6 separate regions of the Homo sapiens genome follow, and all the other regions are linked to region 6. The links are contacts of gene promoters, found by promoter capture Hi-C in blood cells and fetal thymus (Javierre and others, 2016). All regions are on one chromosome and are shown on one strand. Each heading gives the region's core, a stretch centred on a gene start or on the middle of the fragment in contact. The rest is flanking DNA. Distances are from core to core; before and after follow the strand shown.

Evidence for each region. The method cuts DNA at HindIII sites, captures the fragments that hold promoters and counts their contacts. A CHiCAGO score of 5 or more calls a contact.
Region 1: a contact is called between a fragment that was not itself captured here and the fragment with the promoter of SEMA3D in region 6, in 1 of 17 cell types (total CD4 T cells). The highest score is 5.1, in total CD4 T cells.
Region 2: a fragment that was not itself captured here is called in contact with the fragment with the promoter of SEMA3D in region 6 in 1 of 17 cell types (naive CD4 T cells); the score reaches 5.1 in naive CD4 T cells.
Region 3: a contact is called between a fragment that was not itself captured here and the fragment with the promoter of SEMA3D in region 6, in 1 of 17 cell types (endothelial precursors). The highest score is 9.9, in endothelial precursors.
Region 4: a contact is called between a fragment that was not itself captured here and the fragment with the promoter of SEMA3D in region 6, in 1 of 17 cell types (activated CD4 T cells). The highest score is 5.4, in activated CD4 T cells.
Region 5: a contact is called between a fragment that was not itself captured here and the fragment with the promoter of SEMA3D in region 6, in 1 of 17 cell types (M2 macrophages). The highest score is 5.9, in M2 macrophages.

Annotation. Positions count from the first base shown.
Region 1 is chr7:83,880,383-83,884,200 of GRCh38, forward strand. No RefSeq gene overlaps it. Among named protein-coding and RNA genes, the nearest start is that of SEMA3E, 230 kb to the left of the region's middle. The HindIII fragment of the contact is 758 bases long and covers 2,109-2,866 here.
Region 2 is chr7:83,827,649-83,831,599 of GRCh38, forward strand. No RefSeq gene overlaps it. Among named protein-coding and RNA genes, the nearest start is that of SEMA3E, 180 kb to the left of the region's middle. The HindIII fragment of the contact is 1,235 bases long and covers 1,303-2,537 here.
Region 3 is chr7:83,935,059-83,939,030 of GRCh38, forward strand. No RefSeq gene overlaps it. Among named protein-coding and RNA genes, the nearest start is that of SEMA3A, 260 kb to the right of the region's middle. The HindIII fragment of the contact is 6,870 bases long and covers 1-3,972 here.
Region 4 is chr7:83,751,381-83,755,480 of GRCh38, forward strand. No RefSeq gene overlaps it. Among named protein-coding and RNA genes, the nearest start is that of SEMA3E, 100 kb to the left of the region's middle. The HindIII fragment of the contact is 741 bases long and covers 1,274-2,014 here.
Region 5 is chr7:83,967,970-83,971,843 of GRCh38, forward strand. The region is part of intron 15 of SEMA3A (semaphorin 3A); the gene reads right to left. Among named protein-coding and RNA genes, the nearest start is that of SEMA3A, 220 kb to the right of the region's middle. The HindIII fragment of the contact is 6,553 bases long and covers 1-3,874 here.
Region 6 is chr7:85,184,578-85,188,462 of GRCh38, forward strand. SEMA3D (semaphorin 3D) reads right to left here and starts at 2,479. Exons shown (of 19, transcript NM_001384900.1): 1 at 2,101-2,479. RefSeq lists a silencer at 2,291-2,350. The HindIII fragment of the contact is 2,551 bases long and covers 930-3,480 here.

The DNA.
Region 1 (3,818 bases), core at 1,238-3,737, 1.3 Mb before region 6:
CATGTTTTGAAAAGGAGCACATATATTTAATGTTTTAAATAACTGCTGAGTTGCTCGCAGTCTAAACCATATTTTATCATTGCAGTATTTATGACAGTCTATTTTAATCATTACATTTATTGCATAATTTTTTATTTCATAATCTAGCATATTATCTTCACAAATATCTAACTTATGCAATAAGCATAATGGTTAAAATAAACTGTCTTAAATACTTCAGTGATAAAACATGATTTAGACTGTGAGAGTCAACCCAGCAGTTATTTAAACTCAACTGTTCCAACTTCTCAAAGACTGATCATACTCAGAATATAATCTAAAATTCTTTATGCGTTCTGCAAGGTCCTATGATCAGACACCTGGATGTCTTTCCAATGGTATTTTCTGACGTATTTCCCCTTGCTCAGATGCGTCGGCAATACCAAGTCACCTGCTATTTCTTAATCTTATTAAGCAGGGTCTATACTTGGGTCCTTGCTATTGACTGTTCCTGGGACTTTGGTCCCTTGAATAGTCAAATGCTCTCATTCAAGTTTCTCCTTAAATGAAATTTCATCATTAAATCCTTTCCTAACAATTCTGTTTATATTAGCATCCCATCTCCATGATTCTCTACCATCTCTCCATCATTCTTTACTTACCTTAATTAATTTTTTCTTTGACTTCTTACAACTTGATATCTTACATATTCAGTTTCTGATTCTTGCCCTAGCACCACACACACACACGCACGCACACACACACACACACACACACTCTCCACACTGACAGGAATGTAATTGCATTAGTCCGTTCTCACGCTGCTATAAAAAACTGCCCAAGACTGGGTAATTTATAAAGGAAACAGGTTTAATTGACTCACAAATCTGCGGGTCTTGGGAGGCCTCAGGAAACTCACAATCATGGCAGAAGGGAAAGGAGAAGCAGGCAGCTTCTTCATAGGGCGGCAGGATGGGGTGAGTGCAAGCAGGGGAAATGGCAGATGTTTATAACACCATCAAATCTCGTGAGAACTCACTCACTATCACAACAGCATGAGAATAACTGCCTCCATGATTCAATTACCTCCCACCAGATCCCTCCCACGACACGTGGGGATTATGGGAACTACAAGATGAGATTTGGGTGGGGACACAGTCAAACCAGTCAAACCATGACTGGTTTGACCAAACCAGTCAAACCATGTCAAACTCCAATTTAAGGATTCTTTTTTCATTGTAATATTCCATACACTTTTAAGGATGACTAAATTATGGTATGCACTCAATAAATATGGGTTGAATGAACTAGCAATATGGCAATAGATTACTACAGATGATTTTTTTTCAGGAGGTAATACTCAGGAACTTTCAGCATCCATGTTTCTTGACATTCCAAATCCTTAATTTTATAGTTGAAGAACCTAATGGTAAGAATAATGAATACTGTGCAGCTGGGAGACTGAATGCCTTGATTCTATTTTATGTTTTCAGGTGGGTTTTCTTTTAGATGATAAATCGTTTTTAATCCACATATAATGCATATATTTAGAAAAACTACTTATAAATATATAAGTAATTGGCCTTCATCTCTAGGCCTTGTGGTATTTGACTTGTAAATTAGGGTGTAGGGTCATTAAAGATGAAGATAATTTTTTATTGTATTTAGTATCTTTGTATTATCAGAATATAGCCCCAGTAAAAATACAGAGCAAGATAGTTACATAGAAAAAAATCTTGTTGTATGTTGAGAAAATTTGTGTTGCAAAATTTTATCAATTGTCAATGAATGAAATACTTGAAAAATTGAGGAATATAAGGAGATTTTGGATAGATGACTTTCAGATACCTTAAAATCTATTTGTGGATATAATATATGTATAGGCAAAGGAATTACAGTGCAAGGTAAGAATAAGACAAACTAATGGTAGAAGAAGCAAGTTAAACTTTGATCTAAGAAGATAGCTTAGAGTCAGGAAAGTCTTTATAGAGGAGGGACAATAGCACCTATATTGGTGATAAAATATAAACATTTTCCTAGATTACCCAAATGAAAAACAATTTAATAAATTAATAGCATATTAATTATTTAAACCTGAAATATAAAAACAGAATACATAATATGATTAAAGCTTTGTAACCCAACCAGGGTCATATGTAAAACTCTAGGTGACCAATTGACTACCACAAAAGACGTTATAATTCCTATTTACTCCAGACATAAAGAGTTACTGCTGGCACAGCTTCTTTTCCTTTGAAAAGGAACACATACCTTTAATGTTTTAAATGCCTGCTGAGCTGACTATAGCTCACAAGTATAGACAATGTTTATCTTCCTAATGCCCAGAAAAGTGATGACATATCAAAATAAAGTGAACAAACAGCCCTTTTTAATGCTTACAATAGTGAATGGGTCTGAGCAATTTGCATTCCAGATCAAACTGAAAAGGAAACTAATCAAAAGCTCCATGGATCAGTGACACAATATGATTTCAAATTTGATCCTTGTTATTCAAAGAATCTGAAAGTCTGTTTGTATCAAGCTGATTATCTATTTTATTAAAATCCTTAATGATCATATGAATAGGGCAGTTGTTTGAGGGACCTGCTTTATTATATATCTACCTGAATCTATTTGCTGTATCATTTCTATACACATTTTTGTTGTCATCATTTAGAAATGCTGTATTTCTTTTGTCTCTCTTTCCTCCTCCCTGCTCCAGACTTTCCTTTGCTCTAACCATACACACATTGGAACACAAGCACACACGTACACAGCACAGCAATAGATGCACAAATGACAATTACTTCATTATCCTTATAATTGAAATTAGCCTAAGGTAAGGCTCAGGCTAACCAGTGAGAATCTCTATAGATACCGAACATAAAGCTTTTCATATGAGCATAACATAAAGCTTTTCATAAAGCTTTTCATATGAAGAGTTAAAAATGAAATCATCAAGTGAAGTGGTCTCTGCACACTTCCCTTCACGTTACAAAAAGGGACTCAAAATGAGTAATTTTTACATGAAAGGAATTTTTTCTTGTCCTTCTTTTACTGTCCCTAATATAATCCTTAATAAATCTGCCTAATATCCCAAAGAACAGACAGTTCAAGAAAATAAACAAGTAGGGCCAGGAAAGAGTAAATCTCTAACAAAGAAATGAGAGATTAAATAAACTTAAATAAAAAGGGAAATGTATAGTAGACTTTTGCCACTTGAAATAGTAAATATCAGTGATATGAAAAATTTGATGTAACTGAATATCTGATTCCCTCACCTATGTGAAAGAAGTAAGTCATTATTGCATATATCTTTTTATTCCACTGATAAAATGTCCAACTCTTTCTGAAACTTATCCTTTGTTTACTTCTCAGTTATAACCTTATGACATGGTTGGAAATTTTATAACAAATTTTACAGTAAAAACTTAAAGAAAGATACAAAGTATTTCCTTGAAAGATAATATAAAAAATAAAGAGCTTGTGCCATTAAATTAATATTTAAAAATTATATTCTAATTATCTTATTACAATTAAATTTCATGTTCCAAAATAAAAAGTCTAGGTGATTACCATACTTAATTTAATTTAAATTAAAAATTGATACTTTATGATAAAAATTTATTTCAGGATTTATACCCACGGAAAATATATTGCGTGTATCCTTGAGACAGCAGTTTTCTGCTTTCTCAAAGAAAGACCTTAACATTAATGGATTTCATATGTTGGGTCCTTTCCTGTATGTACGCAGGCAGTTAGATGTCCATTTTCCAAAACTATGAAATTATTTCAGTGAGTCTTAGACCATCCCAGAACTAATATTACTCTTTTTCTGA
Region 2 (3,951 bases), core at 670-3,169, 1.4 Mb before region 6:
AGAAAAGCATACCTCTTCATGAGGTGTTCTCAGTTAACTAATGTATTGTGTTTAGTGTCCAAGAGAGTAATCACTCAGTAAACATGAGTTTCTTCTCCCTATTATTTGACTAAAAAGAAAAAGCAAAAAATAAAAATTTAAAAAGCAACAGGAAGACAAATCACTGAGTATAAGCAATTTTGGATTATTTTATACTCAGTGATACTCAAAATGGAAACTTTATTTCCTATACAACCAAATTTTAGTGGTGTTCTCTTCCTGGAACAAGCAAATTCAATTCACTTTGAACAATTCACTTGTTCACAAACAATTAAAATAAGTGCTTAAGCTAATCATTTTGCATCCAGGCTGAGACTTCCAGGGTATGGCTGGCATATCTCATTATGTAGTTTGTTTCTACAGTTTTCCCTTTCTAGAAACCACACATCCCCAAAACCTATATGTGGTATTCTTATTCAGGCATGAATTATATTGGTTGATCTTTTCTGTGCAATTTCTATAACATTTATCATATAAAATGTGGAAGGAGAGCTCAGTTCTATCGTTATCAATTAGCATTTATATCCTTGGTGTTTTGGAGGTATTAAGTATTGGGTTTTTATTATATACAAAATACATTTGTCTACACTTCTGATTTTTGTACTGTTGAAAAGTTTTAACAATGCGTTTTTAAGCTAAGAGATGCCTTCCTCAAAATCCAACTGCAGGCTCTCTACTCCATCTTGAAGTTAAACTGCAAACAATATTAATGCTCACAAAACAGTAGGCAATGAGGACTCCCACCTCTGCAGTGAGTAGGGTCTCAAACCAGTCCAGGTGCTCTAAACAACTAATAGTATGTGGCTGCCGTAGTGGTCCCAGGTTACCATTTGCTGAATGAACTGGAGCTTTCCCATTATGTCAGCAAGCATTATGTCTGCCTAGGCAATATGAATGAACTTTCTGTCTTGCTGTCTTGGTTTGCATTTTGGTTTCTTCTCTGAGACTGAGGTCCAGACCATTATCTAGTGTGTTCAGACTTGAAAACCTACCAAGTTCACCCAAAATCTGATGTAGCTTGGATGTTTGTTTCTATCCAAATTTCATGTTGAATTGTAATCAGCAATGCTGGAGATGGGGCCTGGTGAGAAGTGTTTGGGTGATGGGGGTGGATCCGTTGTGGCCTGGTGCTGTCTTCAGGATAGTGAGTTCTTTTTCGATCTGGTGGTTTAAAAGTGTGTGGCACCTCCCTCATCCACTCTCTTGCTCCTGCTTTTGTCATGTGACATGCCTACTCCTCCTTCGTCTTCCACCATGATTGTAAGCTTCCTGAGACCCTCATCAGAAGCCGAGCAGATGTTGGTGCCATACTTGTACAGCCTGCAGAACTGTGAGCCAGTTAAACCTCTTCTCTTTATTAGTTTCTCAGTCTCAGATATTTATAGCAATGTAAGCATGGCCTAATATCATACAAAGTCCTAATCCCCAAAGTTGGATTTCCCTCATCATTTTACTTCTACCACTGGCCGATGTTCCTTTCAAAAATAGACTATTTGCTGTACTATTATCCTCCCTCTGAGCATCTTGCTACTTAGAAATGCCAGCCACTGAACTATATCCAACAGAGAAATCATTTATCAGGGTCAAGTCTGTTTCTCTATGACTTAGAGCACTGGTTCTTGAATTTGGCTGTACATTGGAATCACCCAGGAAGGTTTATAAACTCTTGATGTCTGGTCTCAGACTCAGACATTCTCATTAATTTGATATGCACAGTGGAATTTTCTTTATTATACTTGAAGTTCTGGGGTACATGTGGAGAATGTGCAGGTTTGTTACATAGGTATACATGTGCCATGGTGGTTTGCTGCACCCATCAACCTGTCACCTACATTAGGTATTTCTCCTAATGCTATCCTTCCCCTAGCCCCCCCATCCCCGGCAAGGCCAGGGTGTGTGATATTCCCCTCCCTGTGTCCATGGGTTCTCCTTGTTCAACTCCGCACAGTGGAATTTTTAAAAGCTCAGCAGGTGATTCTCATGGGCAGTCTAGACTGAGAACCACATATTTAGAGTGCTAACTCCAGGCCTCCCCTGATGCCTACCTTAACCGAGGTTATTTCACTGTGCCTTAGCTACACCTTTTCCTCTTCTACCTACATATTCTTCTGCCTTTCTTGGAGATCCTGATTGTCTTTGTAGCTGAGTTTATTTGAGGAGTGACAATAGAATTCTGAGGTTTGTGTTGTTGTTGCTGTTACTTTTGTTTGTTTTTGGTAGATTCATTTGTTTTTGAAAGGTTAGATAAATGGCAGAAAGAATTGAATTATTTCAAAGAAGTTATGACTGACATTTTACTGCTGCTCTTCAGCAAGAAATGAAAAAAAAAAATTCTACCAATTGACAAGTCAAGGACATACAGAGATACATTTTGGGTTCGTTACATTAGCAGTCACCAAAGTAATGTGGAGGGAAGTGTGCAAGATGATCTGCTAGCATATCAAAAAATATTTGAAATTCTATGTGATTGTTTTGGTAGAAAAATAGAAAAAAAATGAAGCTTTAACAATCCATATAGCACATGAATTAATATTGGTGCTCTCGCTTAGTCCTTCATTTACTTGATCACTTGCCTTGCAAGTTATGTGAGAGGAAAGCTCTGCAATGGATTATAGCTTTTGTGTGTACAGGTAAATGGGTGTCAATCTGATATGTAACATTATGGAAAATACTCTCACAAGATGGAAATGGCTTAATACCAATCTCTTAGTTAACTGTAGGTTGAAAACTATAGGTTGAAAATGTTAAAAGATAAAAGAATAAAATTATTTCTAATTTTGGCTTGTGTAAAAACTATTATGGAAATAACTCCATAATTCAATTTTTATCATTATTTTCATTTAATAATAGCAAAATAGTGAGCAAACTAGGAAAATTTTTAATAGCTGAATTTCTTACTTAATACGATGTCACTGAAAAATTATTATTGTGAATTACTTATCGAATACCAATAAATGAATAAATGTTACTTTTGTAAGCATTTTATACACTATCTCAGCATATACATTTGATCCCCAAATATAAAAAGAATGTTTTTTAGTTGAGCACTCTCAACATTTTTGTGAGGTATCCACCTTTCAAGATAAACCCAGAAATTCCTGCCTGCTGGAATTCATGTCCTTTTGTAGTCCCATTTCACTTGTACCAGAGTTGGTCAGGTAACCAGCAGCTCATTGTGGAAATGATGGTATATCATTTTCATGTTCAGGTTATAAAAGATTGTGGTAGCCAGGCATGGTGGCACATGCTTGTAGTCCCAGCTGCTAGGGAGGCTGAGGCAGGAGGATTACTTGAGCCCAGGAGTTCCAGGCTACAGTGAGCCATGGTAGCACCACCACACTCCCAGCCTGAGCACTCTCTCTCTCCTATTTCTTGTTCTTTCTCAGATCACTTACATGGGAGGAAGCCAGTTTCTATGTTGTGAGTTGCCCTTATGGAAATGTCCATGTGGCCAGAAACTGAGGAAGGCCTTTAGCCAACAGTCGGAGAGGAGCTGAGCCTCTTGGTTCAACAGATGGTAAGAAACTGAGGCCTGCCAACAACCACAAGAATGGGCTTGGAAGCTGATCCTTTAGCCCCAGGTAAGCCTTGAGATAACTGCAGCTCAAGAAGACAGGCAGCTGGATTGCAACCTCATGAGAGACCCTGAAGTCTTTCTTAACATAATTGCTGGCTTTTCTTTTTTTTTTTTTTTTTAAGAAAAACAAAGTGAAAATATATATTAATAACTTTAAGGAAGTATTAATACTTTTATTTCTTGCTCTATATGTCCTTTTTTTTTTTGCTCAGTTATATTGGATATCAGATGATTTGGGATCTACTTCATTTGGAAAAGTCACCTAATTTAATGTTGCTTCTTCCTCTTTTATAAGATGGGACTTATCATGATTATCCTTTACTGAATACTGACCA
Region 3 (3,972 bases), core at 76-2,575, 1.3 Mb before region 6:
AAGTCAAACTGGCTGGCTTTTATATTCCTGACCCCAGCAGTCATCAGATGTGGGTGGACAGGGGAACTGGAGCAGTCAGTTTGCTGTAGCTGAGGAATCTCTGAAGAAGCCTGCAACTGAAGTGTGAGGCAGGGAGTCCTCGGAAAGGAGCTCTGGGAAGGGCCTGGCTACAACTATCACAACTTAGTTTTGTGAAAAATTTATGGGAAACGAGGGTTAGGTGGGGGCTGTGGAACTGGCAAGTATATTTAGAAACACAGTACATATTGTAGATGGAATAGAATTGTTTCAATGTAATAATTTTTTACTGCATGGATGTTTAAATGACATTATTAAAAATTAAAGGTCAGAAATTGAGAAAAAAGTGTAAAGTGTCCATGCATAAATTAGGTTTTAAGTAGAAGACGTTATGAAGATAATTTAACATTAATAAAACAATTTTATAATTTTGTTATATTTTTGATATACGCTTGCTCTAATTTGAATGTTAATATTAATGTCCTTGAGTAAAGAACATGGTTTTTTTTTTTTTTTAGACGGAGTCGCGCTCTGTTGCCCAGGCTGGGTGCAGTGGCGCGATTTCGGCTCACTGCAGGCTCCGCCTCCCAGGTACGCCATTCTCCTGCCTCTGCCTCCCGAGTAGCTGGGTCTACAGGCACCCGCCAACACGCCCGGATAATTTTTTTTTTTATTTTTAGTAGAGACAGGGTTTCACCGTGTTAGCCAGGATGGTCTCGATTTCCTGACCTCGTGATCTGCCCGCCTCGGCCTCCCAAAGTGCTGGGATTACAGGCGTGAGCCACCGCGCCCGGCCAAGAACATGTTTTAACCATCAAGAATTTCCACACTACTTAATAGCTAATTTACCTAAAGGAATTTACAATAAAATATAAATAACTATTTAGGAAATGAAGCAAAAAGACCCTCTCTTCACGGTAAAATTAACTTTGCTGTTAATGTTCTCTGTCAAAATACATCCCTTTGTCCTCCTTCTTCCCCTTTCATCCCACTTTACTTTTTAGAGTGCATTTTTACTTCATTTTATGCAACTGGAAGTGGAGTAATATCTTCATGAGGAAATGATATTTTTAGCTATTCTGTAATTCAGCTTCAAAGAAATGAAAATTCTTTGAACAATAATTTTCTTTCCGAAGAGATTCAAAGCCTTCTGTATGTGCTCAATGTTGTTAACCAGCAGATGGCACTCTTGCTCCTCGGCAGTGAACCTGGAGGCTTTGAAACTTGTCAAGAGTGTGGGTCAAATATCTTCCTTTGAAAGAAGTATAATAAAGAAGGCGCCTTCAGCCTGTATATCTGAACCAATAGAGATTCTTTATGTGCAGGTGCAACTAATCCTTTCAAGATGTAATGAAGCTCAATAAATCCTCCTTTTGCAATATCTTCACTGGTCTTTCAGGCTGATTCTGCTTTTTGTGAGAAGAAAAGTGCAGAACAGCTCAGCACAATGCTACATGTTTAAGCAATAAGGAGACTGACCCATTGTCTCATGTCAAGCTGCCTGGGACGCAATTTCCTTTTTCCTGTTCTCAAAATTAGCTGATGAGAGCAAGTTCCCTAGGTGAGCATAAGTTCCCCATATATATTTTTTTCTTTCTTTCCTGAAGTAAGGTGGCCAAAGAACTACGCCTTCGCTAGCTGTTATTCTCCATTTTATGTGCTGGGAAAGTCACTTGAGCACAAGAAGTTATTTTTCATATCTACATCACTGCTTCTTATTAATAAAACAAAGTACTTACCTGTTATTCGTTTTCCTTTTAGCCATTTCATAAATTCTGAAACTACCCATTGGAAATATTCAGAACTCTTATTAACACAGGGATTGATAGCATGCAAGTTTGGTGTTTTGTTTTTTTTTTTGTACAGGTAAATTATTGTTTGTTTATTTAGTTATATCACAAAAGATAACAAACCTTTTGGACAGCATATTCAGTACCAATCATTTCATGTTAGCATTTTTTTGCCATTTTTTAGGAAATCTCAAATTCTCAGATGTAGTTAGCTAAGAATATTATTGCTAACTGGCTATGTCTATAAGAAATAATATAAATGATAATGAAATAGGACTTTACTTTTAGTTCAAGAAAATTACAATATCAGTAATATCAATTGATAAGCTATGAGTCTTAGCCCTTCATCACACTCTGTTTGGAAAACCAGCAGTTGCTTCTGAGAGTGGATGAAAAACAAAATGAGAGGAAGGCTGCAATTACTCATATGACAATTACTTGTATTTGGTGTTGGCGTCGTCTGCCCTTAATATTCTTCCATTTTTCTACTGTCATTGTATTGATACTAAAACATGCTGCCAAAGACAGGATTAAGAGGTCTGGAAATAGCATGTTGAGCTTACTCCAAGCCATTCCTCTTTATGACTGTATGCTAGTGATAAAGACAGGAGACAGAAATACTGGGTAGAAGAGGGCAGTTTCCCAGCAAAGGCCCCACCCTCAAGCCTGGAAACCCGTGGCCCTAAATGAGAACAGGTATTCCTGTTTTCACGCCCAAAAAGTTGCCTTTTGGCCTGCTATGCCCCCTATCCTGTGCCCACATAAACTCCACATCCCAGGCTCCAGAAGCGGCCGAACAGATGAAAAGCAGAAATGCAGGGCATTTCGAAGGAGAGAAGAGAAGGAGTGTCTGAATGCCGAGAGGAGTTTGTCTGGGGACTATTGGAAAGGAGGTTGGCCACTAGACAGCCAAACTCCAGGGGAAGATCATCTCCCCACTCCATTCCCCTCCCAACTCCCCATCCATTCTGTGGAGAGCCACCTCCACCACTTACTAAAACCCCAGCTTTCACCCTTCTAGTCTGTGTGCGACCTGATTCTTCCTGGATGCTGGATTGGACCTGGGTGCCAAGAGGGTTCACTGAGCTGTCTAACACTTAAGCCATCCGTGGATGGCAAGACTAAAAGAGCGCACTGTAACTCAGGCCTACTTGGGCTTCAGGAGTGTCAGACATCCACTCCTAGATGCTGCCATGGGGCTGGAGCCCAAAAGCGCTCCCCTTGGTTCCTGCACCTGCCCGTCTGCGTGCTCGCCCTCCCATAAAGGGTTTGAGCTTGTTCAAAGGAGAGAGTTTGAGAGCTTGTTCAAACAGAGAGCCACACCCGCGTGGCAAGTCCTGTGAGGGTGGTCAAGGAACTCTCCCAACTCACTAGTAAACTGAAAAGCCAACAACACAAAATACATTTTCCAGGTAGAAATCAGAGAGAATTTTTTAAATGTTAAATACTGAGTCCACTTCTTGCTTATTTTCAAATTTTCACACATTTTCAAATTGGATTTAGAATTAAAATCTGTATAAATTCCTATGTTACATGAATCTTGAATTCCTTTCTCACCTGTCTCCTACCCTTCTATCCTTAGTCCATTGAGCTTTAGCCTCATTTTGGGTTCCTTAAATTTGCCACACTTAGGAGTTTTGTTGCCATTTCTTCTATTTTGAGCATTCTTCCTGTTTTTCTTTTTTGTGGCTAGCTCTTTATTTTCATGTGAACCCCAGAATCAGTCTCATTCATTGATTTTCTATGATATAATTATCTTCCTAATTCTTTACCTCCAATGGATCACTGCTGTATTAGTGCTGCCATAAGAAATTACCACAAACTAGATGGTTTACAACAACAGAAATTTATTCTCTCACAATTTTAGAGACCAAAAGTCTGAAAGCCAGGTGCTGAAAGGGCCATGCTCTGTACAAAGGATCTAGAAGTGAATTCTTCCTTGATTCTTCTGGTTTCTGGTGGCTCCTGGCATTTTTCACCTTTTGGAAGCATAAGTAATTCTGCCTCCCTCCAAGCTCACATGGCCTCTTCTTTATGTGTGCCTCTCTGCATCCTCTCCTTTTCTGATAAGGGCACCAGTCATTCAATTTAGGGCCTACCCCAATCCAATGTGACCTCTGCAAAAACCCTACTTCCAAATAAGGTCACATTCTGAGGTTTGGGT
Region 4 (4,100 bases), core at 394-2,893, 1.4 Mb before region 6:
CACTTATGTTTTGCATTCCATAGTTTTACTATAATATATTGACAATACTGTGTGGCAAGTTTCCAAAATCCAACTTTGATCTCATTTTGTGGGTCTTCCAAATTACTCAGAAGGACAAAAACAACAGTGAACAGTGAGTCATTTTATTTATAAAAAACTCTGCCTTTCTGTTTTTAGAACTTAGTGGACCTTCTCTTTCCTGCTTAGCAGGCAACTGCAGTTTGTAAGTTAGATCTGTGTTTTGTTTCTTCTGTACAATCTAAAAGTTTACAAGTTAATATGACATGGAAAATCCAGTTTATAATAAAGTTACATGATGTTCATTAATTGTGAAGTGAATAAAATGAATTTCTTAGTAGCAAATTTTGGAGGACAAAAATATATCAAAATATAAGGTTTAATAGACAAATTTTCCCTACATAACCGCATATTTTCTTTAAGGATGATCTTTTTATAATTTCATTATTTGGTAAACAGTTTGCCTTTGAAAAGTGAAATTTTTGTATAACAGCATACAAAAAATGAAGAACAATATTTAATAGGTAATATATTTACAGAGTTCAAAAATAGTAAACTGTTAATGAGCTGTACATTGAAAATTCTCCAATTTGTCTGTTTTCTGTCTATACGTTATACACCTCACTCCTACATAACTTCTATCGTTAGTTCTTGTACATAATTCTTGTTTTTGTCCTTCCTTTCTTTAAGCATACACAAATGAACATAAGTATGTATTTTTAATACTCACTTTTTTACATAAAATGTAACATGCATGTTTTGATTACTCATTTTTACCCCTTTACAATATATCATGGAGGCCTTTCAGCATCGGTCTCTTCATGGAACTTAATAAAAAGACACTTTTACTGGAGAGGAGTGAAGTTAGAATAACCGCTGAGGCATATATAGATATAGTACTTAAATCATAAGCCCCAGGGCAATAAAATTATGTATTATCCTTGAAATTAAAAAAATATAATATAACAGTAGATTTTCACTGATCTATAGTTTTATCATAAAATTTAACATCAATATTAATTCTCCCTAACCAATAATAAATCTATATTTCAAGTGTTATTTTAATTGCACGATAAGTCTAATTAAAAAAACAGGTAACATTCTCTATTATTTTAAGGAAATTATTTCATATAAAGTAAGATAATGAGAAGGGTCTGTACAGGTACATCATACAGAGTGGGAATCTCTGAACAACTAAAACTAAAATGAGGGGTTACTAAAGTCTAAATATGTTCCCCCTAATTGATGTGTTGGAAGCTTAATCCCCAGTGCAACAGTATGGCAAGGTAGGGCCTGATGGGAGGTGTTTAGGTCATGGAGGCTTCAACCTCATGAATAGATTAATACAACCATAAAAAGGGCTGGCAGGAGTGGATTCCCTCTCTTCTGCTTTTTGGCTATGTAAGGATACAGCCATTCCTCTTCTCTGGTGGATGTAGTAACAAGGCACCATCTTGGAGCAAGAGATCGAACCTTCTGGTGCCTTGACCTTGGACTTCACACCCTCTAGAACTGTGAGAAATAAATTTATTTTCCTTATAAGTTACTCAGTCTTTGGTATTCTGTTATAGCAGCACAAAAATTTCAGGATATTGAATGAAACTAAATATGGACTAGACCTTTTCAAATATGGATTAGAAACTTTTCAAATTGGAAGAGATAAGCCATTTGAAAGGCCAAGTTAAATGAAGACTAAATTAGGATTAAAAATAACATTTTTATTGTAATATACCAAATTTTAAATTATAGAGGAAAATTATTTACTCTAAATGATTTTTACTCTAAATGAAGTATTCACTCTAAGAGATGTTATCTTTTGTTAAATATATATATTTAATTTTGGTGGTCATGAGGAAAGACTGCTAAAAAATCTTTAGCTTCAAAAGGGAAAAGGACTTACTAAAAATGTTAAAAATAGACTTAGCATGAGACCCAGCAGTTTCAATCATAGGTATATACTTAAAATATTTGAAAACAGATTCTCAAAAAAAAAACAAGCTTGTACACTCATGTTCATAGCAGCTCTGTGAACAATAGCCAAAAGGTGGGGAAAGCCCAAATATTCATCAATGGATAAATGCTTAAACAAATTATGGTACATACATACAATAAAATATTATTCAGCCATAAAAAGAAATGAAGTGTTTATGCAGATACAACAGTGGAAGAACTTCACAAACATTAAGATAAATGAAAGAAGTCATACAAAAAAAGGTCACATTATGATTCCATTTATAAGACATGTCTGGATAAGGTAAATTCAGAGACAGAATACAGATTCATGATTGTCAGAGGCTAAGGGGAGGGGACAAGAGGGAGAAACTGCTTAATGGATACAGAGTTTTATTTTGAAGTGACGAAAATAATTTAAATCTAGATAGATGTGGTGATTGTACAATATTGTAAATGTCCTAAATACCACCAAATTGTCCTTCCTGAAATGGTTAACTAACTTTATATTTTATAAATTTCATCTCAATACATTTAAAAAAATCAATTCTAGAGTCATGGCCAGAGGCAAAATAAAACTTATTGAAATTATTTTTTTTCTATTTTCTCTCATTTATTGTAAGCAAAATAACAGGCGACTTAATAAGCAATCTATACAGCTTTATATATTGTCAGGATTTTTTCTTGGGGAGCTATTCTTACCCTGTTTAAAATAACATACTTTACCAATAAGTTGCATAAATATGAATAATATATTTGCAGCAAGATGCTTTTGATTTTAGTACAGTGTATTTTCTCATTTAATATTGTGAATATTAGCATTTGACAAATAATGTTAATTTGTAGAGGAAATTCCTTGACTACAGCACATATTCCTAAGTGTTTACAAGATGGGTTTTAGAACAGATATGAGAATATTCTATCTTTCATTAAATTTTATATATATGTAATATTTTTAAGCGTTATCTATATTAGTCTGTTTTCACACTGCTAATAAAGACATACCTGAGACCGGGCAATTTACAAAAGAAAGAAGTCTAATGAACTTACAGTTCCACATGGCTGGGGAGGCCTCACAATCATGGTGGAAGGCAAGGTGGAGCAAGTCACATCTTACATGGATGGCAACATACAAAGAGAGAGAGCTTGTGCAAGGGAATTCCTCTTTATAAAACCACCAGATCTCGTGAGACTTATTCACTATCATGAGAACGGCATGAGAAAGACCCACTCCCATGATTCAATTAACTCCCACTGGGTCCCTCCCATGACACATGGGAATTGTGGGAGTTACAATTCAAGATGAGATTTCAGTGGAGACACAGCTAAACCATATCAGTATCCTATTTGCATTCATGGAAGGGGAGGAGGAAATAATGGCTTCTAACCTTCTATACACCTGCCATAGTAGCTCCATTTTTACATCTCTGGCCACAAGAATTTTTATGTGAATATTGTCTTTTTCCAATTATTAATACTTTCCTAAGCCATTTTTATTTCATTTTAATAAATTCAGTAAATATCTTAAAAAAAAAAAAAAAGGAGAAGAAGCCATGCATGGTGACTCATGTCTATAATCCCAGTACTTTGGGATGACAAGGCAGGAGGATCACATGAGCCCAGGAGTTCAAAACCAGCATGGGCAACATAGTGAGACCCAATTTCTACAAAATATTTTTAAAAATTAGCCAGGTGTGGTGGTGCTCACCTGTGGTTCTAGTTACCTGGGAGGATGAGACAGGAGGATGGCTTGAGCCCAGGAGTTGGAGGCTGCAGTGAGCCATGTTCTTGCCACTGCATTCCAGCCTGGGTGACAGAATGAGATCCCATCTCTAAAAAGAGTGGATAATAAGTCACTTAATTACTAAAGTTACTAAAATCACTGAGTCTAACAATGGTAAACCTCAAATTTTATTTTGTAAATTTGGATAAAAGTTTGCTACAGAGATTTACTTATTAAAATTATATACTAGAAATTAAAGTAGATAATTTGGAAAACAAACATGTTGGGAGAGCTGGAAAATAGCTGTCTTTTTCTGTACTCTGGGTGTAAAAGAAGGTTGATGATTTGGGCATTGTAGAGTTTAGTTGTTTTCCAACTTAATGCGTGTTGACATTGATGCCCTCCCACA
Region 5 (3,874 bases), core at 197-2,696, 1.2 Mb before region 6:
ATACTACTTTATTATTTGCTATAGTCCCCCTACTGCATGCTATCAATTTGATTCTTTATTAAAGCAAACAGCCGTACATATAAATGGCAGCACAGTATAGCTCTACTCTAGGTACTTTTCAGAGAGTATAATATTTAATTCATGGTTATCCAATATAAACAAAAACTCAACTAAGGAAATATTGGTGAGTACATATTTTCTGAAAGATATGAAATCTTATATATTGAGGATAAGAGTGATATAAAATCTTTTTCTGGATTAAACCAGTTGATCTGAGAGCAGTTTACAAGGAACACACCATGTTAATCACATCGGACAGTTGATTTTATTAAATTGGTTTTGGCAGGGTGTTCCCACCCTATGCTGAGTGAGACCTTTGTCAATTCTCCCTTATTCACTGTATTGATGTCACAATATTTTTGATATGATATTGATTGCATTACAGTGTTTACTCTATGTTTACTTTTGGAAAATTTTTCTTTCTGGTTTTACTTTCTAGAAATTATTGAGATTCTCGTGAACAACAGATTCTTTTATTTTGAAATGGACTTTGTGATCATACTTCCATCTACATTGACTGAAAAAAAGCAGTTAGACAAATGTATGTCTTACCCTTATAACTTCTTGGTAAATATTCTTGCCGCATGTCTGTCTTTGTTCTCTCTCAGTCTTCTTGCTCTATGTGTGTGACATTGTTGTTATTTTTATCTTATCTTTATTTTTACCAAACAATTGCAACTCATCTTTTATATGTTAGATAGGTCATTTAGCAAATTTTAGACAGTGAAATATTTTTATAACCCTTTTTTTTCTTTGTTTCTTTTCTTTTCTTTCCTTTTTTTTTTTTTTTTTTTTTTTGGAGAAAGAGTCTCACTCTCTCACCCAGGCTGGAGTGCAGTGGCACGATCTCGGCTCACTGCAACCTCCGCCTCCCAGGTTCAAACAATTCTCCTGCCTCAGCCTCCAGAGTAGCTGGGATTACAGGTGCCTGCCACCACAGCTGGCTAATTTTTATATTTTTAGTAGAGATAGGGTTTTACCATGTTGGCCAGGCTTGTCTCAAACTCCTGATCTCAGGTGATCCGCCTGCCTCAGCCTCCCAAGGTGCTGGGATTACAGGCATGAGCCACTGCACCAGTCTTTTATAACCCTTTCTATTGTTGTTCTTAAAATATACTTGTACAAAAGTCTTAGCACAATATCTGGGCACAGCAATAGTCATAAACATGTCAGGTGACATCATTATTACTGCTATTATGATAGATTCAACTGCTAATTAAATCTTAAAATCCTTTATTGAGAATCCAAATGAAGACAAATTACACTCCTCAATGTGAATCCTACTCCCCTACAACCATCAAAGAAATATTTCCTCTTCTATATTGCCAAAAAAAATCTCTTTTTAGTTATCTCCTTAGAGTATGTGTAGTTATATTTGTTACAATTATTTTTAATCTGGTTTATTCCCCTGGCCCACCACACTGTGTATTCATAATCCTGGCAGAATGGTAATCGTAAACGCTTAGCTGATGTTTGCTAAATGGCAAATCCAGGTAACACATTGAATTTAAAACCTGAAATCTCATGTAACTTTGACATCCTCAAGACATAGAGTTATCATAATTATATAAAAGAAATGAATAAAAGTTTAATCAATCAAAAAGAAAATAGAGTTTATAACCCTGATTATGATGGAATACTTTATTGAACTGCTGGAGGATGTAAGCATTTCAAATATTCTAAATTTGTTAAGTTTAATAATGTTATAAAAATTGACTTGAGAGAGGGTGGGAGATAATGATGACTAATCATGTCTACTCCAAAATCAAAAATTCCAAATAGGGAATAATAAGAAGAGAAAGAGAACTGAGAAGTCATATGAGTATCTTCTCACATCTCCAAGGATACCTATATCACTAAAGGATGTCATGTAATAGATAATTTTGTGGGCTTCCAGAAAGAAAGCAATCTCATTTTAAATCATTTCTAAATAAATTTCACACTTAGAAAGCAACTGTTTTGCATACAAACTTTTGTCATGAAAATTGCGAGTAGAAAAGAAGGGTATCCTTGTTAAATTGGCATAATGATTCCCCACGGGTTCAACCATCTGAATGGTTAGAACAAAATAATTGAGAGCAACAAAACATTAAAATTATTTTAAAAGCACCACAGTGTGTTTGGATAACACAATGTTTCAATATGTTGCAGCTGTTAATGACAAGAAATAATGTTTTTAAGGAAGCAATCTTCAATTAATCATTTCCTCTTTTAGTGGGATAATTTATGGAAATGAAATGAAGCTAATAAACCAGAAAGAATGGGAGGAAAGAAAATAGTTAAATAAATTGCTTCCTTTTGTAACAACAAAAAAGTCATGATATCCATCATTTGACCAGAAATATCATGTTGCTAAAGGCCTTATTTAGCATTTGATTCTCTTCCAATATAGCAGAAACAGAAGGCATCACATTTCAGCTTTCTATTTATTCACTCTCCATTTTAACCCCATAAATGTCTCGCAAGATTGAAATGTTAATAATGCAACCATCTTAGGAAATTTGATGTTATGTAGAGAAGACAGAGATGGATGAGGTTGTGAACCATATTCATTCAATTTTGATTTGTTATCAATTTTGATGTTCTACTTTATTGTAAGTTTAATTTGTAAATAATACATGTAAAACTAAAACATAATTTAGGAGATGGGTAAATGAATGCCAATTATTTTACATATTTATTTAGGTTATTTAGCAAATACAGTTAGTTGCTGTACCACATAAAGACAAATAAAATTCCAGTGGTTTTTATTATAATTTTAGTATTTCTCTCAATAATACTCAGTGTCAAAGGTCAAGAATAGGAGGAAAGGAAATGTTGCCCATAAACTCTTGGTAACACAGAATACTGTAGCAATGCCTAACTTAAAGTATAAACAGCATTACTTAGATTTTTCTCATTGGACTCTACATGATTTTCTGCAGAAATACAATAGATGCTCTATCAGTAGAAAAGACTAATTTAACTTCCAGTGGCTGGAAAACATTTCAAAGATGAGTCAATATCTCTTGAAAATACATAAACTATTTAAAAATTTATAAAATGAAAACAAAAAAATTCATTCATTCTTAACATTCATGTATATTTTGAACCTGAGCATTAAGATGGCTAACAGGCAGGCGTGGTGTTTCACACCTGTAACTCCAGCACTTTGGGAGGCTGAGGAGGGTGGATCACCTGAGGTCAGGAGTTCAAAACCAGCCTGACCAACGTGATGAAACTCCATCTCTACTAGAAAAAGAAAAATACAAAATTAGCTGGGCATGGTAGTGCATGCCTGTAATCCCAGCTACTTGGGAGGCTGAGGCAGAAGAATTGCCTGAACCCGGGACGCAGAGGTTGCATTTTGCAGAGATTGTGCTATTGCACTCCAGCTTGGGCAATAAGAGCGAAACTCCATCAAAAAAAAAAAAAAAACCTAACAAACTATTTAATAATATCATATATTGTAGTGCAAATAAAAGTCTACAGTATATACTGAAGTATATAACAGTGATTTTGTTTACTTTTTGAGGTAATGCCTAGTACAATGTCTTTCCAATGTCTAGTATGACATTTTCACCAATTAGATTCTATGTAAATATTCAATGTGTTTTTGCAGGCATGTATGTGTGCATGTACCAACAAATGAATGCATGAATGTGTAGTTAAGAACATGCATGTGTGCTTAACCCATTTACTAGAAATAGGACCAATAAATATGAAGTTAGTGGATGTAGCTTGCCAAGTACAAAAATACAATGAAACCTTAAATAAAATTTAAACTTGTAATTTTTCACCTGGCTAAAATTTTAATTTTAAACTACTTTGTTTT
Region 6 (3,885 bases), core at 1,229-3,728:
AGTTCACAGCACCTGAAACACAATAGGTGTTTGATAAATGTTTCTTCCCTTCTCTAGGAACTTTCCATTTCACAATTGGGCAAATTCCATTGGAAATTTTGGCAATTCGAATCAGTACTGTTTTACTGTCTGTCAGCCCTTGACCCTACTCTTATCTCGTCCCACATCACCTTCCTGTATTTCCTGGCCTTTCCCTTCCAAGAGCCAAGGTCATTGCCCATCTCCCTGACCAGGGCCATCACTTTGCGCCTGTCAGCGATGGCACCCCTGACCCGTCTTATCCGCTGGGGCGAGTCTCAGAGACTCTAAGACCCGACTGGGTTAAAGCAGTGGCCAGCTGGGGCTGATCACTCCCAACCCCGATCTTCTTGCTCATCCTCCTTGCTGTCTGGCCTCGGAGAAGGAAAAGGAGAAGGGAGGGCATCATTGGAGTGATGACATGTGTGTCTTCTTGCTCATCCTCCTTGCTATCTGGCCTCAGAGAAGAAGGAAAAGGAGAAGGAAAAGGAGAAGGAAAAGGAGAACAAAAAGGAGAAGGCAAGGCATCACTGGAGTGATGACATGTGGCTCTCTCCCTTCTCTGCCCTTCACATTTTTCTTTCCACGTGCAGAACTGGGAAGGCTCTGACCACCCCTGCCCCCGCGGTTGCCATGGTTACACAATAGCAGCAGCACCAGACCCAGGAGATGTCTCAGACCTCTCCTCTACCTCCGCCTCAACCCTTCCCTCTCTGTTAGGAGATCCTCCCCCTCGTCTCTGCGCGCCCCCACCCCGCCATCCCCCGCTAGCGCACACATGCAGGAGAACCCTTTTTAGGCTAAACCGGAAAGTTTAGGTCTTCTCCCCTCTTCTTTTGCTTGTGCAAATAGCACTAAGCTAAACGGAAAGTGGTGGGGTTTTGGTGATGAAATAAGAGTCCACGCACAGAAGCTTGCCTTTTATTACCGCTTCGCTCGAGGCGAAATCGCTGAAAGTTCGGCTATTTAACTCCTGTCCCCATAACTCGGAATCCCGGACACCAGCGGCCCCAGCTGCTGGCGCGCGGCTCTCTTCCAGTCCCCTGGATCCCAAAGCTCCCTGCCACAGCGCGGCGTCTCCTCCTCCTGTCAACTTCCCTCCTTGCACTGTGACGGAGGCAAAGCAACTCAGCCCAGGAGGTTGAACTCGAGTCATCAGAGAAGGAGAAACAGTGCCGAAAACGGCCCGTGCGCTACCAGGGTAGCCCATTAACGCATTAACTCCAGGCTCGTTGGGCAGAAGCCGGGAGGAAACACCCTGGGGACCGCACTCCTGGTTAAATGCCCAGCACGAGTCAAATCCGGCCTTTCCAAAGCGAGCCAAGCCCACTACTACAAAGAGATCCCCCGAGTGTTTTGCCTTAACCACATTTCAGACAGCCAGCTTTGTGGCTGCTGTTTGACTCCAACTTTCCCTCTAAATCTAAAAGGATGCACACTTCCATCAGACGGAACGTCGCGATTCCCCGGCGAAGAAAAAGGCGTCGCCCATTCCTCTTCCAAAACGCTACAACAAAAACCACCACGCTTCCCTTCCTTCTTCCTTGCCCCTTTCCCTTCTCCCAGACCAACAAGGAAAGGAGCGAGCGAGGGCGCAGATGCCCTTTGGTCAAGTACTCCCCGGATGTTCCCGACTAAAGCGTCTCCAAATGAACCTGCAGCCTGCGGAAGCCGGGGACACATTCATAGACGCTCTCTGCTGCCCAGACCAGGAGGGGTGGTGGGGGAACCAGGAAGCCAGGGAGAGAGCAAAGTTCCTGGACGCGTCTCAGGAGGAAAACTTTGTGCAGTGCTGCCAGGCGGAGGCTCGTCAGAAGGCTCCGCAGCTGCTGAGGCGGGGTGGGACTGCGCCCCAGGGGCCGCGCTGAAGCTGGCGCCGCGATTACTGCGCACCGATTTCGCCCACTCTCTGTCCGCTCCCGGGAGCCTTCTCTGTCTCAGGACGGTTCCTTATCTCCCAAACCATGCTCGTCCTCCACTTCGGACCCACAGCCACCCCCAAATCCCGGCTATCCCCGCTTAGCACCGCGGTCTCCAGCACACCCTCCCACTGGAGTAGCAGGTGACCCAAACCAGACTTACCTGCTGTGAACTCTTCTCTCCCTCTCTCTTTTCCTGGTGCCTTTTCAGGGAGAGGGGAACGGGATGCAGGCTGAGGTCCAGCGGCGCGGCAACCCGGGGCACCGGCGCGCGTTCCTCTGAGCCGCAGCCCTGGCTGAGCAAGCGGAGCCGCCGGCAGCCCTGGCAGAGCCGGGAAGCTGCGGCCGCAGGGGCCAGGCCGGGAGGCAGGGGGCGCTGCTGCCTCCCCCGAGAGCCGCGCTAGGACAGGCGGAGAGCAAGGCACCAGCTGGAGCTTTGGGGAGGAGAGGGTGGCGAGGAAAGGCACGCTCCAAACAGGAGGGCGGCTTTTAAGTTTGTGGTGTGACCGCAGCAGCTGTCCTGGGAGAGACTCAGTCTTTCTAAAAAGAGGATGCTGAAAACGCCGGGGATTACCTTTCCCCTTCCGATCTCCTCCCCCAGCCCTCGCCCCCTCCTTCCACTGCGCACGCCAGAACTCCCAAGCGTGCAGAAGTTCATCCCTGCTGCGCGGAGGCTGCCAGCAGCGTGGATTTAGAGGTAGCCCTGGCCAAGCGCTGACGGATGTTTATCAGGACAGGGCACCCTATGTGTAAAGCAACCTCTAACGTCTGATCTTCCTTCTGGGTGACTTGGGGACTTCTTTAGTTCCTTCTCTATACCATAAAACCTGTTAAGGGACCCCATGAGGAAGAAACAGGGAGAGTGACCACAAACACCGTCCTAAAAATGCTAATCCCACAAAACAGTACCTGCGTTCCACTATGTAAAACCTCAATCCACGGTTAATGGCCTTGACAAGGCAGGCATAGGGATGAGGAACAGGGATCAACCCTCCGTTAAGGGGCTGGCACCCGATTAAGACCAAACAGGGAGAGATAAAAACGAGTAGAATGTAATCCTTTCTTCCTCTTTCCCTTACGCCAGACCTACAAAGAGGTGTGCCTCATATCCTTGTCTTCGGGAGTTTTTTAGATTTTTGCACCCCTTATTCACACAGTAGGAACTTAGAAGTATATAATGACGAGAAGATCTAAGTTTTGATGAACCTGGATCCTATGCAATTGGAATAGAGGATCCTCTTTAAGCAAAAGTAATGCAGAAATATCTCACTTCTACAGATTCTGCAAAAATATATGACAATGAGAGTTCATGAGGCCACCGTCAGGGACATTAAAAAGGCCTGTGCATTTGGTGAGCCCTGTACGTTAGGCATTTTTAGCTGCATGGTAAATCCTTTGTGATGGGATATCCAGGTTTATAGTCACACACCTTGCCCTTAGTCCCAAACATAAATCTGACATGAGGTAGAGACATGGAAAGCAAGCAGCCACGGGATCCTGCATTTGTCAGCTTGATTTAAGAGCACAAGGTGTAGGGTCCCAAAGCTTCCTTAGCAAGTAACAAGAGATATCTTGATTTGGAGATGGTGAACAGACAAATGCAGTAATGGAATAACTGAAAGGGGTGGAAGACATTCTTCATTTGACCTTTTATCTGTGGCAGAGGGCTGAGGGCCACAGAAGCTAAAGGAGTCATTTTAAGTTATAAATGGTTGATGGCAGAGTCAGGCTAAGGAAAGGCTCAGGTTTCTCAAATCTGACCAAGGCTCTTTCTTGTGTCTCATGCTGCCCCATCTCTATAACCTTGGTTTGGACTCACAACCAATCAACCCCATAAATACCCTCTTTGGATAGAGAAAAAAATTTTAAATCCTCGTAGACTATTTCAAACTATAGCAACTTTTATTTTTTTTCTGAATGCTTTATATTTAATGTTATACCACTCATT